2 separate regions of the Homo sapiens genome follow, and region 1 is linked to region 2. The links are contacts of gene promoters, found by promoter capture Hi-C in human tissues and cell types (Jung and others, 2019). All regions are on one chromosome and are shown on one strand. Each heading gives the region's core, a stretch centred on a gene start or on the middle of the fragment in contact. The rest is flanking DNA. Distances are from core to core; before and after follow the strand shown. Region 1 overlaps FAM222B (family with sequence similarity 222 member B). Region 2 holds the start of TRAF4 (TNF receptor associated factor 4).

Region 1 (3,722 bases), core at 1,049-3,548, 45 kb before region 2:
GAAACCCCGTCTCTACTAAAAATACAAAAAAAAATTAGCTGGGCGTGGTGGCGGGCACCTGTAGTCCCAGCTACGCCGGCTACTCAGGAGGCTCAGGCAGGAGAATGGCGTGGACCTGGGAGGCGGAGCTTGCAGTGAGCCAAGATCTCGCCACTGCACTCCAGCCTGGGCAACAGAGCAAGATTCTGTCTCTAAAAAAAAAAAAAAAAAAAAAAAAAAAAAAAGTGAAACAATTTGAAATATATAGAACAGTTGTAAGTATGCTAGAAATAATTTTTTTTCTTTCAATCATTTGACAGTGTTGCTGACCTGATGTTCCATCATCCTTGAATACTTTAGTATTTCCTATAAACAAGGGGCATTCTCCAACTTTACCACAATACAACTGTCAAAATCAGGAAAGTAACATTGACACATTACTTCCATATAATTATCAGATCCTCTTCAAATGTTGCTTGTTATTATACCAGTTATATGCTTTATAGCAAAAAGGATCCAGGTCAGAATCACACATTGCATTTATTTTTCATGTTGTCTTAGTCTCCTCCAGTCTGGAACAGTTTCTTCAGGCCTTCTTTGATGTTCATAACCTTGATGCTATTAAGTTATTTTGTAGAAAGTCCCTCAATTTGGACTTGTCTGGTGGTTCCTTGTGTTTAATTTAGGTAACATATCTTCAACAGGAATATCACAGGAGTGATGCTGTGTTCTTCACTGCATGATTTCAAAAGGTACAGAATTTTGATTTGTATCGTTACTGATAATGTTTGATCACTTGATTAAGGTGGTGTTTGCTAGGCTTTTCCTAAGTAAAGTTACTCATTTTCCCTTTGTAATTAGTATTTTTAGGAGACAGGGCTTAGAAACTATACAAATATTGCATTCCTTTTCAGCCTTCCAATGTATTTGTTTACATTAGTATGAACTAATGATTTCTTGTTTTATTCAATGAAATATCATCTTTTATTATTTATTTTGATGCTCAGATTATTCCCGATTTGGCCAGTAAATCAAGAAAAAAAATTATATAAATATATGTTTAATCATAAAAATGCCCAAATAATCTGCCATTCTTTTATTTCAATAGGTTGACAGATAAATACTCCCCAAACTAACACCTTACAGGCAATGGTAGAAAAGAAAAATTCACAACTGTTGTATTCTGGTAACATGCCTGCTTTACCCAGTGTACCCACTCAATGTCTTCTCTAATTTCTACTGTGTAAACTTCTGTCTCTGGGGTTTCCCTCACCAACTAAGCATCTTGTGCCTTCTTTGTCCTTTGATATTTCACTGTTATTCTTTGAGCACTTCCTTTCCTGCACAATAAGATATATTAGACTCATCTAGTACTTTCTCTGCCTCAGTCAATTCTCCAAGGAGCCTTGGTTCCTTTCAATGGAAAATGCAGTATTTAGAAACCAAGAGTAGGCCCTGTTGGGGCTCATTGCAATTGGGTGGGAGTGATCACTGCATCCAGTACTCTTCTCATTCTGTTTGGGTAGCTTCCATTTCTAATTCAATTGAAGTGACTTAATAGAACTGGGTAAAAGTTGATAAGGACACTGAGTTGGTAAGGGAGGTCCCAAAGAGAGAAGAAATTAAAGAGGACAGTGGGCCAGGCACAGTGGCTCACGCCTGTAACCCCAGGAATTTGGGGGGCCGAGGCAGGTGGATCGTTCAGGAGTTCAAGACCAGCCTGGCTAAGATGGTGAAACCCCGTGTGTACTAAGAATACAAAAAATTAGCTGTGCATGGTGGTGGGTGCCTGTAATCCCAGCTACTCATGAGGCTGAGACAGAGAGTTGCTTGAACCCAGGAGGTAGAGGTTGCAATGAGCTGAGATTCCGCCACTGCACACTCCAGCCTGCGTAACAGAGCGAGACTCCATCTCAAAAAAAAAAAAAAGGACACAGAATGAAGAAGATGTGTACCAGTAATAGAAGAATTTTGAACTTTTGTTTTCTACCACTATCCATAAGATTACTTGTCGGGGGGGTGTTAGTTTTTTTTTTTTTTTTTTTTTTTTGAGGTATCTTTGAGATAAAAGAAAGGCAAGGCCGGGCGCTGTGGCTTACATCTGTAATCCCAGCACTTTGGGAGGCCGAGGCAGGCAGGCAGATCACCTGAAATCAGGAGTTCAAGACCAGCCTGGCTAACATGGTGAAACCCCATCTCTACTAAACTAAAAATACAAAAATTAGGTGGGTGTGGTGGCGGGCATCTGTAATCCCAGCTACTCGGGAGGCTGAGGCAGGAGAATTGTTTGAACCTGGGAGGCAGTGGTTATAGTAAGCCAATATTGCATCACTGCGCTCCAGCCTGGATGACAGAGTGAGACTCTGACTCAAAAAACAAAAGTAAATTAATTTTAAAAGGGAGGGCAAATTACAATTATTTGGGCATCTTTAGAGTTACATGTATATTTATTGGATTTTTCCTCCCCGATTAACTCAATGCTAAAATAATGTTGACTTAAATGACTTGTTTGGTGGGACTTAATATGTAGTATAAGATGCATATTTGACAGGTTAGAAGCAGTCACACACTTTGATAAATAACAATACTGAGGCCGGACGCGGTGGCTCATGCCTGTAATCCCAGCACTTTGGGAGGCCGAGGCAGGCAGATTGCCTGAGCTCATGAGTTCCAGACCAGCCTGGGCAACATGGCAAAAACCTGTCTCTATAAAAAACAAAAAAATTAGCCACATGCAATGGTGTGCACCTATAATCCCAGCTACTCAGGAAGCTGAGGCAAGAAGATCCGTTAAGCCTAGAAGTTCAAGGTTGCAGTGAGCTATGATTGCACCACCATACTCCAGCCTGGATGACAGGGTGAGACCTTGTGTCAAAAACAAACAAAAAAGCAATTCTGAATGACTTTTGAATTTCTCAGGTCCACAGAAGGGAGCCAAATAATTCTGCTGATCATTGAGTGAGTTGTGGTACTTTCAACACTTTAGAGGTTTAAAGGACTGCTTTAGGCTGGGTGCGGTGGCTCACGCCTGTAATCCCAGCACTTTGGGAGGCCGAGGCGGGCGGATCACCTGAGGTTGGGAGTTCAAAACTAGCCTGACCAACATGGAGAAACCCCATCTCTACTAAAAATTCAAAATTAGCTGGGTGTGGTGGCACATTCCTGTAATCCTAGCCACTCGGGAGGCTGAGGCAGGAGAATTGCTTGAACCCAGGAGGTGGAGGTTGCGGTGAGCCAAGATCGTGCCATTGCACTCCAGCCTGCAACAAGAGCGAAACTCCGTCTCAAAAAAAAAAAAAAAAAGACTACTTTATTAGTTTTTTATTTGTTTTGCAGACAGTTCCTGAAATGAGGAAGCTTCCTAAAGTGAATTTCAGAATCTTTATCTGTGTGTTTACCCTAGCTATGAAAGTATTATTCTAACAGGGACTGTATATCTGTTTTTCCTTCCTGTAGATTGACCCAGCATTGCAAATTTCATTAGCTAGTTGTGGTCTGCCAGGTGTGGAAGGGGGTGCTCCACCTCTTCCTTTAAGCTTTCAATTCTCGGGCCCCTTTAAGCTTAGCAGCCTCTTGAGCTTTCAGAGACCCTTTAGCTTCAGAAACCTGCTAATTCCTTGGACATGTGGAGCGTGAACCATAAATCTTCAAGTTATAGTGAGTCTCAGTGACAAGCAATGTAAGTGCTTTGATTTTCACTAAGGCTATATAGAAGCCTTTGACAAAGGTTATTACATATCAGG
Region 2 (3,485 bases), core at 277-2,776:
GAAGGAATCCGGCCTGACGGCCCCCTCCCCCGCTCCTTTCCCGAGGCAGTCAGGGTGGGTCAGCTGTGGGGGGGTCGGGGGGCTCAGCTGGCCTCATCTGGAACCCAGAGGGCCGGGGAAGAGCAGTGGCGGAGACAATGGGGCTGTGTCTGTAGGAGAGTAAATGTGTACACTGCCGAGGGGGAGGGGGCAGTCCTGCAGCTTGTGCCGGAGCATATGTGAGGGCAGGAGCCGGCCCAGGCTGTGGGGAACAGAAAACAAAGGGCCTGCTGAGATTTCCGCCAGTAGGAGCTACGGAGGACCGAGCGAGGGAGGGAGGCACGGCGGGAGGGAGCACCGGAGGCAGGCGTCTCAGAGGTACTATCCCTGCCAGGCCCTCGATCCCCTCGTCCCAGCAAACAGCCAGGCAGTGGCCGACTCGGCCTTCCCCTGCGCTCTGGGGGCATGACCTCCGAAGAGTCGGGGCTCCTTCACCCTGCTTCCCACACCCGGGCCTGAGGGGTTCCCTGCGTGAGCAGGAGATTCAAGACATACAGGGCGCCCAGAAACTTGATGGATGCCCAAGAGCCAAGGGCTAACCTGCGTCCTGAGAGGGCAGCGGGAGTTCAGTAACAACACGAGTGCGACCCCCTTCTTCATGACTTATGGACCACCCGCCTTACTCCAGCCCCCGGGAGAGAGGGGAGCCGCCTAGAGGGGTCCTTCTTCGGGGGAGGATTCAGTCCTTCCTCCATTGTGTGATCATAAGCAGTCCGGGTTTAAATCCTAGTTAAGCCTTTAAGTAACTATGTGACCCTGGGCAAGTCGCAGCCTTTCTTTGAATCTCGTTTCATGATCTGTGAAATGGGAGAACAATAGCTACCGTTCTCTGAACGTTCGAAGAATCAGAAGAGGTTAGATGGGGGAAAGCTCCGGAGGCTCAAACTGCCACGCGGGAGCGGGTTTTGTCCTCTTCCCCCAGGATTCAAAGTTCAAGGCTGAGGCCGCGCCGGCTCTCAGGTGACGGGGAAGGGCCTCTTCCCCTCCTGACCCCACGAGAAGGCGCCGAGGTCTTCCGCCCCGGGCCGGGCAGTTGGGACCCGCCCGGACCCCTCGGATTCCTGCGGGGGGGGCCTCCCTCGGGGCTTGACGTCATCCCTCCCCGTGACGTCACGGGGCGCCCCTGAGGTCACAGGGTCGCAGCGCAGACAAAGGCCCGCCTTGCCCCGGGCCCGAGACCCTCCCCAGGCGGCGCCCCCCGCCCCGCCCCGCCCCCGCTGTCCCCTGCTCCCCGGCCAGCACCTGAGGAACTCCTGCAGGCAGGTATCGCAGAAACGGTGGCCGCAGGTGGAAACCTGCACAGGCTCGCGCATGGGCTTCCCGCACAGTGGGCACAGCAGCCGTCGCTTGGGCTTCTCCAGGAACTTGTAGTCGAAGCCAGGCATGGCGGGCGAGCGGCCGGCACGGGCGAGCGGGGCCAGGCACGCGGCGGCCCCACAGCCCGCGCCTCGCTGGAGCGGCGCTCCCGGCTCCGGGCGGCGCCGACTGGCGGTCGCGGCCAGGGCTCGGCTGTGAAGCCCGCCCTCCGGAAGAGAGGGCGGACCGCGGCCGCGCGGTCCTAATGCGCGCCCTCGCGGCCCCGCCCACCCCCGAGTGCATGGTTTTTGGGTCTGGTGACCGCCAGTCTCGCCCACCCACGGGATCATGGGCTTTTCTTTCCCCTGGGGGACAGAGATCGTGGCTCCGCTTCTCCCCAGAGCCCGCGGGCCCCGGGGAAGTGCGGGTCGGAAAAGGGGACGGGCCGCGCCACAAAGGTTTTCTTCTCCAGAGGCAACAGCTCGGCCTCCGGGGCCGTGAGCAGCCCAGGAACCGTGGCCCCAGCTTCCAGGTGCTAGGCAGCCGAAGCCTGGCAACCAGCTCCGGGGAGCCCAGCTGGGGCGGGGAGGCTGGACTGGGCGCTGGGCCAGAGGAACCTCGGCCCCAGCCTCCGGCTGCGCCCACATTCCTCCCTTGGCCGCAGCCCTGCCACCGAGGTCGGGCCCAGCCCAGTCCTGGGGTGCCTGGTCGCCACCCCCACCCTTGAAGACACCACACTCCAGGCAGGCAGCTGATATTTTTATTGGCCTTCCTGTCCTCTGGGAAACCGGTCTGGTCCCACCAGCTACCCATTCTCTCAACTGTTTCTGGGGAAAGGCATGGGGGGGACGGGCAATCTCCAGCGCGGATCTTTTCTGCAGCACTTAGTGACTCCTGCCCTCCTGCTGGGGAAGAGAGGCAAGCCGACGTCTAGCAAATCCTGCCTCAGGATGAAAGTGTAGGGGAGGTGGCAGCACTCCCGGGGACCGCCCAGCCCCGGGCTATGCAGAAGCTAGGCAGGCCTAATGGCCAGTCCAGGCAGGCCCTGGCTTGCCCTGCTCCAAAGTATGGAGATAGAGTCCCGGTAAGCACCAAATACTTTTTTTTTTTTTTTTTTTTTTTTTTTTTTGAGAGGGAGACTTGCTCTGTCATCCAGGCTGGAGTGCAGTGGTGCGATCTCGGCTCACTGCAAACTTCACCTCCCGGGTTCAAGGGATTCTCTTGCCTTAGCCTCCAGAGTAGCTGGGATTACAGGCGCCCGTCACCATGCCTGGTTAATTTTTGTATTTTTAGTAGAGACGGGGTTTCACCATGTTGGCCAGGCTGGCCTCAGTCTACTGACCTCAAGTGATCCGCCCGCCTTGGCCTCCCAAAGTGCTGGAATTACAGGCGTGAGCCACCGCACCCAGCCTTATTTTCTTCTTTTTTTTTTTTTTTGGTGGAGACAGCGGTCTCGCTATGGTCCCCAGGCTGGTCTCCCAACTCCTGGCCACAAGGGATCAAGGGATCCTCCTGGCCAAAGCACTGCCTATGCAGGTGTGAGCCACCGCCGCCGGCCCAGACTTATTTTCTAACTGGGCTAGGGGAAAGGGTAGGGTCTGTGTGGAGCTACAGCTGCCTTCAGCCTTTTTTGTTTTTTTTTTTTTTTTGAGACGGAGTCTGGTTCTGTCGCCCAGGCTGGAGGGGTTTACGCCATTCTCCTGCCTCAGCCTCCTGAGCAGCTGGGACTACAGGCGCGTGCCACCACGCCCAGCTAATTTTTTTGTATTTTTAGTAGAGATGGGGTTTCACCACGTTAGCCAGGATGGTCTCGATCTCCTGACCTCGTGATCCGCCCGCCTCAGCCTCCCAAAGTGCTGGGATTACAGGCGTGAGCCACTGCGCCCGGCTGCCTTCAGCCTTTTTATGGCAAGGCTCTGGAGGCCACCCTGCTTCCAAAGGCTAGGTCTGCCTTCTAACTCTAGCCAGGCTGGACCCTGGGGACACTGACTGAAGGGAGGAAGGGGTAGGAAGGGCAAAGAGGTGGTAGGAGAACAAAGTGGTTGAGGTTTCCATATCCAAGGCCAAAAGCAGAGCAGGGGTTTTGCCAGCCCTGATACCCCATGATGACACAATCCAGGAGACAGCTGCAAGTCATGCCTTGGGCACCT

What was found. Contacts are between HindIII fragments. The study calls those that stand out against the background at their distance.
Region 1: a contact is called between a fragment that was not itself captured here and the fragment with the promoter of TRAF4 in region 2, in 2 of the 25 tissues and cell types used here (mesenchymal stem cells and ovary).

Annotation. Positions count from the first base shown.
Region 1 is chr17:28,787,387-28,791,108 of GRCh38, reverse strand. The region is part of intron 1 of FAM222B (family with sequence similarity 222 member B); the gene reads left to right. Among named protein-coding and RNA genes, the nearest start is that of TRAF4, 45 kb to the right of the region's middle. The HindIII fragment of the contact is 3,691 bases long and covers 453-3,722 here.
Region 2 is chr17:28,742,052-28,745,536 of GRCh38, reverse strand. It overlaps TRAF4 (TNF receptor associated factor 4), which reads right to left and starts at 1,526. Exons shown (of 7, transcript NM_004295.4): 1 at 1,282-1,526. The coding sequence starts at 1,424. It overlaps NEK8 (NIMA related kinase 8), which reads right to left. Exons shown (of 15, transcript NM_178170.3): 15 at 2,082-3,485. RefSeq lists silencers at 1,048-1,247, 1,268-1,677, 2,132-2,426 and enhancers at 2,132-2,426, 1,450-2,450. The HindIII fragment of the contact is 18,595 bases long and covers 1-3,485 here.